Linked DNA regions of Homo sapiens: region 1 is linked to region 2. Evidence: promoter capture Hi-C in human tissues and cell types (Jung and others, 2019). All regions are on one chromosome and are shown on one strand. Each heading gives the region's core, a stretch centred on a gene start or on the middle of the fragment in contact. The rest is flanking DNA. Distances are from core to core; before and after follow the strand shown.

The links. Contacts are between HindIII fragments. The study calls those that stand out against the background at their distance.
Region 1: a contact is called between a fragment that was not itself captured here and the fragment with the promoter of ANKRD52 in region 2, in 6 of the 25 tissues and cell types used here (aorta, bladder, liver and 3 more).

The regions. Positions count from the first base shown.
Region 1 is chr12:56,347,377-56,352,002 of GRCh38, forward strand. It overlaps STAT2 (signal transducer and activator of transcription 2), which reads right to left. Exons shown (of 24, transcript NM_005419.4): 9 at 3,916-4,074; 10 at 3,722-3,814; 11 at 3,453-3,512; 12 at 3,036-3,056; 13 at 2,721-2,814; 14 at 2,213-2,260; 15 at 2,050-2,133; 16 at 1,787-1,885; 17 at 1,548-1,683; 18 at 1,376-1,428; 19 at 1,153-1,247. Among named protein-coding and RNA genes, the nearest start is that of STAT2, 10 kb to the right of the region's middle. RefSeq lists a silencer at 18-67. The HindIII fragment of the contact is 5,164 bases long and covers 415-4,626 here.
Region 2 is chr12:56,254,671-56,259,840 of GRCh38, forward strand. It overlaps ANKRD52 (ankyrin repeat domain 52), which reads right to left and starts at 3,714. Exons shown (of 28, transcript NM_173595.4): 1 at 3,573-3,714; 2 at 3,158-3,241; 3 at 2,613-2,691; 4 at 2,345-2,415; 5 at 1,114-1,314; 6 at 195-282; 7 at 1-50. The coding sequence starts at 3,599. RefSeq lists enhancers at 1,724-2,716, 3,023-3,072, 3,153-3,202 and silencers at 3,263-3,332, 3,353-3,902, 3,913-3,972. The HindIII fragment of the contact is 23,354 bases long and covers 1-5,170 here.

The sequences.
Region 1 (4,626 bases), core at 1,747-4,246, 92 kb after region 2:
GACGGGGTTTCACCACGTGGCCCAGGGTAGTTTTGAACTCCTGGGCTCAAGTGATCTGTACTCCTCAGCCTCCCAAAATGCTAGGATTACAGGCATGAGCAACCACGCCTGGCCACAAATAGCACTTTTTTTTGGTTTTGTTTTGAGACAGAGTCTTGCTCTGTCACCCAGGCTGGAGTGCAATGGCACGATCTTGGCTCACTGTAACCTTCTCTCCTGGGTTCAAGCGATTCTCCTGCCTCAGCCTCCTGAGTAGCTGGGATTACAGGCGCCCACCACCACACCCGGCTAATTTTTGTATTTTTAATAGAGATGGGGTTTCGCCATGTTGGCCAGGCTGGTCTCAAACTCCTGACCTCAGGTGATCCACCCACCTCGGCCTCCCAAAATGCTGGGATTACAGGCGTGAGCCATCGTGCCTGGTCATGAATAGCACTTTTAAAAGCCAAATGCTACACAAGTTGGTAGGCAGTGTGGTGGAAAGAGCATGGGCTTGGAGTCACATAGGCCTGGATTTGAATATCAACTGTGTCCCTTGGGTAAGTTCTTTAACTTCTCTGAAACTCAGTTTCCTCACATGAAATGAAGCTGGCAAAACCCACCACTCAGCATGGTTGTAAGGATGAGATGAGAGAATTAATGAAGAGCACCCATCAAGCTCTGGAATGTAGGAGATGCTTCACAAACACTGTTTATGGCTATTATTGGTTGTTTTTTTTTTTTTTTTTTTGAGACGGAGTCTTGCTCGTCACCCAGGCTGGAGGGCAGTGACGCAATCTCGGCTCACTGCAAGCTCCATCTCCCAGGTTCACGCCATTTTCCTGCCTCAGCCTCCTGAGTAGCTGGGACTACAGGTGTCTGCCACCACGCCCGGCTAATTTTTTGTATTTTTAGTAGAGACGGGGTTTCACCGTGTTAGCCAGGATGGTCTCGATCTCCTGACCTCATGATCCGCCCGCCTCGGCCTCCCAAAGTGCTGGGATTACAGGTGTGAGCCACCACACCCGGCCTTATTATTGTTAACAAATGTGAGGAGACGTGGCCTGCACCTGTCTTTGCTCTCTCTCCCTGCTTGCCACGTGAGGGTGCAGAGACTCCACTCTCAAGCCCGGAAAGCACAAGCCCATGAGGGAAGGGTGACCAAGGCCTTACCCATCATTCCAGAGATCCTTCAGGTGGTCATGTACCAACTCCAGAATTTTGTCCAGCCATGTCCAGAATGGTAACTTGCCAGGAGGGCTCTCTCGCTGGAGGAGGAATGGAAAGGTAGCAAAAGCTGAGGAGTTGCCTCTGGTGTAGGGAAGGAGGGACGTGGGAAGGCCAGTATTTGGAATGTGGGCTAGATCCAGCAGCTCCACAGGATTCAGGGAGTTACCTTAGTGAAGTCAGCCCAGGACAATAATGGATCCTCAGTCCTACAGTTCTGCCCTGTGGGACAGATAGCCACAGACAGATGATGAGGGAAGCCAGGGGTCCTGGGATAGATAGGACAGAGGGACAGAAAAGACTAAGGCTGGGGAAAGGCTGAGAGAAAAGGAAATCTGTACCGAACAGCTTGTTTCTCAGCATGCTCAGCTGGTCTGAGTTGAGGCCTCGGCCAACATAGGAGGAGAACTGCCAACTGAGAGCAGGGCCCAGCAAGCTCCAGGGGGCCTTGGGGGGGTTGGAGAAGAACTGCTGGTTCTGCAGGGGTGGGAGCAGTGTAGGCTGGCTCAGAAGCAACCTATCACACCAAGCTTCCACACCCCTCCTCTCGCGCCTTGACCTGTCGGCCCCACTCCCCTACCTGAAGGTTTGGGCTGAGCAAATTGAACCAGAGAACTGAAGCCCAGGCAATTGAGAGCTGGTTCATGTTGGAAATAATCACCACAGGGAGGGTGTCCGTCTGGGGAGAAGACAGGAGTCACAGAGAGGGATGTGATGTTTCTAGCTGCAGGTATTTGTTAGAGGAAAGGAGTGCTAACCCACCCCAAGAGGCTTCTGTTTATCCCCTTCTTATGCCTTCTTCCAAAGCTGCTTTCTCTCTCCTTGCCCTCCATTTTCACTCACTTTCAGCTCCTGCTTCAGACCCTGGTAGGTATATTTGACCGTGAAGCTGATGATGTGCAGTTCCTCTGTCACACCTAGTGGCCCCTGGGACAGCCAAAGACATAGTCATCAGAAGGCTCTTTGGCAAGCTCCCCCTGCCTCGAGTCCTCTGTCCAGATCTCACCTTATTGCTGCCCTTTCCTGAACCACCTGAACGTTGCTCCACCAGAGTCTGTGAATTGAAGGGAAGGAGAGAAAATGCCAGAGTGGGCACCCTAGTGTCCCTGGAACCCCTGTTTGGCTTCAAGACCTCTCAAGCCCTGGGAACTTCCCCCAACCCCTGTTCCTTTGGACTAAAAGCAGGCCAGCTATGGTGGCTCATGCCTGTGATCCCAGCACTTTGGGAGGCTGAGGCGGGTGGATCACCTGAGGTCAGGAGTTCGAGACCAGCCCGACCAATATGGTGAAACCCTATCTCTACTAAAAATACAAAAATTAGCCGGGCATGGTGGTGTGTGCCTATAGTCTCAGCTACTCAGGAGGCTGAGACAGAAGAATTGCTTGAACCCGGGAGGCGGAGGTTGCTGTGAGCCAAGATGGCACCACTGCACTCCAGCCTGGGGGACAGAGTGAGACTCCGTCTCAAAAAAATAAAAATAGTAATAAAAGCATAGGTCACAAACTATTCTTACCAGGTAACCAAAGTCCCAAATCAAACCCTGACTCTGCCCCTTCTCGGGGGTCAAAGTTTTCTGGTTTGAAGTCAGAATGTTGAACTTCCGGAAGCTGTTCCAGGAGGAAGATACATGGAGACAAGGAATGGAATTATTCTAAAAACTCAGCAGAAAAAAAAAAACAGAAGTTCCACTTCATTTCAGATCTCGCCATCTCCCTTTGTCCATATCCCAAATCCCCCTCTTCCTTGTTTGTGCCACCAGGGCTGCCGAATGTGGTTCTGCAGGTCATACACTGTACAGATGTTTGCAGTGTCCTTGTCAAGCACCTACCCTTGTAATTGAGGAGGATTCCTGAAAAGAAATAAATTTAAAAAAATCATTGGGCAAAAGAGTATGGAAGTTAGGAGTTTCGTCTTTGGGATCAGACAGACCTCGGTTCAAACCCGACTTGAGCTCACTAGCTATGTGGCCTTGAGAAGAGATGTAATCAGTCTCTCTAAGCCTGTATCTTTGTTTGTACAGTGCACTGGTAATAGTTTATTCATGGGGTTGGTGTGACAATTAAATGAGTAGCTGACATGCTGCATGTCACAAAGTAAGTGTTCAACAAAAGAAATGAATTATAATTTCTGTGAGGTAGGATTGGAAGGAGGAAGGAGATAGCCCTAGGGCCCTGTTGTGAAGAGTGAGTATCTCCTCCACCCCAGCAGCCCGTGTCCTGGCCACCCTTCACCTGCTCCAATTTACCTGTCAATGGAGACTTCCACAGTCAGTGACTCATTGCCTTCCTGGAGTCTCACCAGCAGCCTGGGGGAAGGAAGGGGGATAGGGGAAAGTGGTCAACCTCAACCTTCCGGATAGACTAGATGTTTGAAAAAGAGAAGAGGGATTATAAGAGGTAGGGAGATTGCAGGGAAAGAGAAGAAAAAGCCAAGAGTGGGAAGAGCTGTAAAGCCAGAAAATACACAGTGGCAGGGTTGGAAAAAGGAAGTGGGAATGAGTTCTGGAATGCCAACCTTGTTCGGACGGTGAACTTGCTGCCAGTCTTGAGGATGAGGGGTCGATGGGGAGTTTGGGGCATGCAGGGCTGGGTTTCTACCACAAAGGCTCTGAGGAGAGAGAGGTGTGGAGAGAATATATAGCTCAGTATCTGTAAGAATGGCTTCCCTTGTTCCTTCTTTCCCCCAGGGTTCCTGCCTGGCCTCTAGACCTGTGGAGCAGACGCTGTAGCAACTCTGTGACCTGGGCGTTGCGTAGGTCCACCCCTTTGGTCAGAGGGTCATCCTGATAGCTAACCAGGCAACTCAGTCCCTTCAGCTCCTTCAGCAGCTGCCTCAGGTGAAACAACAGCTTTGCTCCAGCTGTGAACCTGGGTGATAAAATTCAGGAAGAAGGAATCCATGAGTTTCCTGGATTCCCCCATCCAGGTTCCAAGATCTCTCTGTAAATATGTGAAGAGTCAGAAACTGACTGGGGGGAAGAAAAAAAAAGAATCCAGGAAGCATATAAAGGATTATTCAACATGATTCATAATCCAAGAAATGAAAATCAAAGCTATTTTCACATATAAAACTGCTAATAGATTTAACATAACAGTTTTCATATGCTATGTACAACTTATATTAAGCCCTTTCCACATATTAATGCATTTAATCCTCAAAACAACCCTCTGAGGCAGGTACTATTATTTTCCCCACATTACAGATGATAAAACTGAGGCACAGAAAGGTTAAGTGACTTGCTTAAGGTCATACAACTAGTAAGGGATGAAGCTTGTATGTGATCCCAGGCAGTCTCATTGTACAACTCACACTTTGTTTTTTTTTTTTAGACAGTCTCACTCTCTTGTCATCCAGGCTGGAGTGCAATGGTGTGATCTTGGCTCACTGCAACCTCCACCTCCTGGATTCAAGAGATTCTC
Region 2 (5,170 bases), core at 2,464-4,963:
GCCGAGGTCTGCTCCCCGTGCCACCAGCAGTTTTAGGACCTCCAAGTGCCCTGAGAAAAGAGAAGACACTCTAAAGGAAGTAGAAGGTAAACTCTAAGACCCTACACTCCTCTCTTCAAAGGCTGCAACCCCACATCCCTGCCCTAGGAATCCTAAATGTCAAATTTCTGATTTTCCCGTGTATTCTCTCTCACCTAGAAAAGCTGCCCAATGCAGAGGCTGCCGCTCCTTTTTGTCACAGACATTCAGGCTGGCTCCCTTGTTGAGGAGCAGGTTCACCGTCTGCATCAGGATATGAAAGACACCTGTTCAGAGCTAGATTCGTGCCCTCAACCTACCTAAGAGCAGAGGCCTCATCTCCTGAAAAGGCTGAGGCAGCCTAATGCCTTTTTCCATGAGCAAAACAACCTGGAGGACTCGAGGGAACAGCAGAAGCAGGCACTAAGGAGGAGATACTGGAGAGATTTGGAACTTTAAGGGAAACAAGAGAGTCTCTTCAGGTGATCTGGTGGTTCTTAAACTCTTTTTTTTTTTTTTTTTGAGACAGTCTCGCTCTGTTACCCAGGCTGGAGTTCAGTGGCATGATTTCGGCTCATTGCAAGCTCCGCCTCCCGGGTTCACGCCATTCTCCTGCCTCAGTCTCCCGAGTAGCTGGGACTACAGGCGGCCGCCACCACACCCGGCTAATTTTTTGTATTTTTAGTAGAGACAGGGTTTCACCATGTTAGCCAGGATGATCTCGATCTCCTGATCTCATGATCCACCCGCCTTCGCCTCCCAAAGTGCTGGGATTACAGGCGTGAGCCGCCGTGCCCGGCCGGTTCTTAAACTCTTGTAAGTCTTTGCAAATGTGCTGAAAGACATGGACTCTCTTCAGAAAGGCGTGTATGCAAATATTTTCCACGCAAAATCCAAGGTTTTATCAACCTCCTGAAGTCCAAGTTAAGAATTTTAATCTAGTCTGACCATTCATTTAGTGCTTCAGCTTAAGTGTTTATATAACCATCCGGGCTGCTTCTCCTTCAGGCTTGAGGGCCCAGAAGCAGGGAAACGTGAGTAGGAAGGTAAGAAAAGGGAAAGCCCCAGCTGGGCCTGGATGGGAACAGTCCTCACCTCAAGATGCCCACTATGCACTGCATGGTGCAGAGCACTGCGCCCGCTCCTGTCAGCCACGTTGAGGCTGCTCAACAGGGGTGCCAGAGCCTCAGCACACTTGGTGGCCCGGTTGGCAGCAGCCACATGCAGTGGTGTCTGCCACAGCTTGTCCCGGGCATTCACATCTGCTGAATGTGCCAGCAGCAGCCCCAGCACCTTCTGTTGAGGGGCAGGGGACAAAAGAGAGAGTGGGAGCAGGAGGTAAAACAACAGGAAATGGAAGGAGGAATAGGTCAGCATAGCATCTACAGCCCCTTCCCCAGCACAGAATCTCTTCTCATTTTTCCAACATACCTAGCCTCTGAATACCTACTTTCCATCTTCTGGATCTTCTTAGAACTTAAGCTCTTCCTTACCTTGCTGATTAAAACAAGGACCCTTTGCTCTTCTTCAAGCCACCTGACTCGCCAACTTAGACCCTGAAAATCTTCACTCACACATACATCCATTCCCAAACAAATCCACATGTGGAGATCCACACATCCCAACCCCCTACTACTTCTAGGAAAACTAAATGCTCTTGCTACATCTTGCCCTGAACACCCTCTTTAGCCTTCTCATAGGCACCAAAATTATTTTCAGTATCTCAGTAAGCAAACAGATACTGGTTCGTTTGCAAAACCCGAGCTAAAATGCCCCTCCTAACCACCACCCACCTCATTCCCACTGGCCTCGGCCCCTCCCCCTGGTGGCTGGAGCCAGGGAAGTGATGAACTGAGGAGGAGGTCCCCCTTTCCCTGTCTTCAGGGCTGATGGGAATAGGATAAAGGACCCAACTGATGAAATATGTTTGGCCCCTGTGCTGTCAACTTTCAAGCTGCTTGAGGGCCAAGGATGCAACAGATTACTATACCCATCCTCCATCACAAGGAAAAGAAATCTCAGTGCCCAGAGGGGGATCAGACTCAAGGTGGCCCCCCAGGGAGGGATGAGTCACTCAGGCCTGGCAGCAGGGCCCCCGCAGTCTGCCAGCCCAGTGTTAAGCTCTTCCTGAGTCACATCAGCTGGCAGCACTCAACCCCCTTACTGGCCAGTTCTAGGGGTAGGAGGAAGGGGCCAAGATTTGATCTCCTCACTACCTGGGGTAGAACAGCTTGTAGGGCTGAGGACTGAGGCTCCTTAACCCTTAACCCCCACCTTTAAGCAACTTATCCTTTTTGAAAGGGTAATAGAAGGTGGGGGTGCATACCTCGTTTCGGGAGGCAGCAGCACGATGAAGAGGGGTCAGCCACAGTGTGTCCTTAGCATTGACATTAGCACCTGTGGGGATATAATTTCCTATTTTGATGGAAGGTGGGGAGGAGGTATGAAGGAAGCCAGTAATCAGGCCAGGAAATCTGAATGGAGCTGGAGCCTCGCCTGGACCAAGCCGGGGAGAGCAATCCTTGAATATCAAAAAAGACTCCTCCCCTCCCTTCGCTCCCTATGTGCCACACCTTCCAGCTCCCCACTTTCACCTGACATCAGTAGCAACTGGAGGATGGGGACATCGCCTACGTAGGCAGCAGCATGCAATGGAGTTCGCCTCTCTTGGTCCTGGGAAGGCAAAAAAGAGCAGGGAGTATGGGCGCGGGGTAAGGGGGCTATCAAGGACCCCAGCCCAAGTCTCAGAGCTCCAGGCCCTTCCCCACAACCTCTTCCCATAGTTTCTGCAGCGTCCTAAGTCCCGGTATTGGGAGTCAAAGGCAAGCACCTAGGGAGGGTGGAGTCAGGGCCAATGGGCTGAGAAGCCGGCTCCTTTTTCCAGGAGGGGTGGGGGCGCTGCAGACTCCGGAGGTTGAGAAGAGAACAACGTTCCTGGGCATTCCCAGCCCAAGTGATCTGGGCTTCAAGCCTGACCTGCTCTCCATCCCCAAATGCAGAGTAGGCTTTCACTCCAGGATGGAAAGAACTGCGGCCTCATCTGAGCAGAGGAGACACGGAGCCGCCCCACCGGTGGGGAGGGGTCCAGAACACGGGAGCCAGGATTCCGGTCTCGCCATCCTCCCTGCTCCCAACTCACCAGCACATTGATGTTCTCCTTCTGCGAGAGTAGGGAACGCACTTCCTCCACATCTCGGCTAAAGATGGCCTGGACCAGGGGCGGCTGCAGAGAGAACCGGCATTCTGAGAGCGGGCTGGAGCCGGAGCGGAACCGGTGTGGGGGTGGGGGTGGGGGAGCACCTAGGTTTGAGTGGGGGGCGTCCGTGGAGGGGCTCCACTCTAGGGATTCTGGCTGGAGCGAGCTCCCGCGGTGCCTCCGCCGGTTGCCAGGTCCCCAAGGACACCGGCTCGGTTGAGGGGAGCGCGGCATGGGGCGGGGCGGGAGCTGCGGGAGCCCCGGGCTCAGGCCCAGCCTAGGCCGCACATCCCCGGGCTCGCGTGACGGCAGCGCCGAGCCCTGGAAGGAGGAAGCGGGAAAGGGCAGGAGGGCTGACCTGGTCCGTGATGCTGAGGATCCCCATGGCTCGGCCCGGGCTCCGTCCGCATCGAGCTCCCGGCGGCGGCGGCGGCGGCTCCACCGGGGACACGGAGCGGCCCAGGCGGCGGCTGCGGTGGCGGCTGCAGGGAGAGCGCGGCCCCGCCTACCGGGGGGCGGGCGAGTTGGAGGCCGCAGCGCTCCCTGGCGGCCGTCCTGGTCCCGGCGCTCCCCGCGCAAACGGACCCCGGCCGCAGCGCCCTCCGCCCCACCCTGGCGGCCCCAGCAGCCCCTGCACCCCCGAACTCGCGCGCCGGCTCCCCGGCTCACGCAGCTGGCCGCGCTGTGCTCTCCGCTCCAGTCTGGCGGCCCAAGGGGTTCCCCACAAGACCCTAGCGGAAACCTGGGCCTTAGTCCCGCGGTGCTTCCCAAACTGAGGACCGAACGGCTGGCCAGATCTTACCCAGCCCACAATGCTCCCGCCCGAGCTAACTCCTCCCGTCAGCGATTCCACACCCCGAAATCCCCCACAGACTAGGAGGAACTGGCGGGTGGAGAACTGGGAATTATGTATGGCAATAGCCCCAGAGGGAGGGAAAGCGTGTATCTCCACTGGCGGAGGCGTGAGTTCGGTAGAGAAGAAATAGCAAAAGTGCTCAAACTGCAGAGAAACCCCAAGGAGGATTCTACTGCAGAAAACACCCACAAAGAGGCCATGACAACTGGCAGCTGGAAAAGGCCGCCAAGACCAACAGAAGGGGCATTTTCCAACTCCTTACTGATTCCATTGCAAGGTTAAAGTGGAAAACACTCAACAATTTCTCCCCAGAACAGCCTGTGGCGCTTCCCCTCCTCCAATGGAGAGGCCAGAGAGCCGTCAATTAGAGAAGAAATGAATGGAGGTCATCTCAACCCAGAAACGGAAAAAGGAGGAAGACGAAAAGTGGAGATTGAAAAATTGATACAATTTATAAAAGGTGATCCAGGGTCCTGTTCAGAGTTTCACAACTCAATACACATTGAAGAGAACACGAAATGGACGAAGTGCAGCATGCTGGCGTCCTGTCAAGGCTTTATATATAAAAATCCTCCCTTGAGGGGAGAGGAAAAAAATTAAAAAATAAAAATACATTTTATTTTATTTTTTGAGATGGAGTTTCACTCTCGTCCCCCAGGCTGGAGTGCAGTGGCACGATCTCGGCTCACTGCAACCTCCGCCTCCCGGGTTCAGTGATTATCCTGTCTCAGACTACCAAGTAGCTGAGACTACAGGCGCCCGCCACCCTGCCCGGCTAATTTTTTATTTTAGTAGAGACGGGGGTTTCACCATGTTGGTCAGGCTGGTCTCGAACTCCTGACCTCAGGTGATCCACCTGCCACGGCATCCCAAAGAGCTGGGATTACCGGCGTGAGCCACCGCACCCGGCGAAAATACATTTCAAAAAAGCCTTCCCGGCCGGGCGCGGTGGCTCACGCCTGTAATCCCAGCACTTTGGGAGTCCGAGGCGGGTGGATCACGAGGTCAGGAGATCGAGACCATCCTGGCTAACACAGCGAAACCCCGTCTCTACTAAAATACAAAAATCAGCCGGGCAGGGTGGCGGGCGCCTGTAGTCC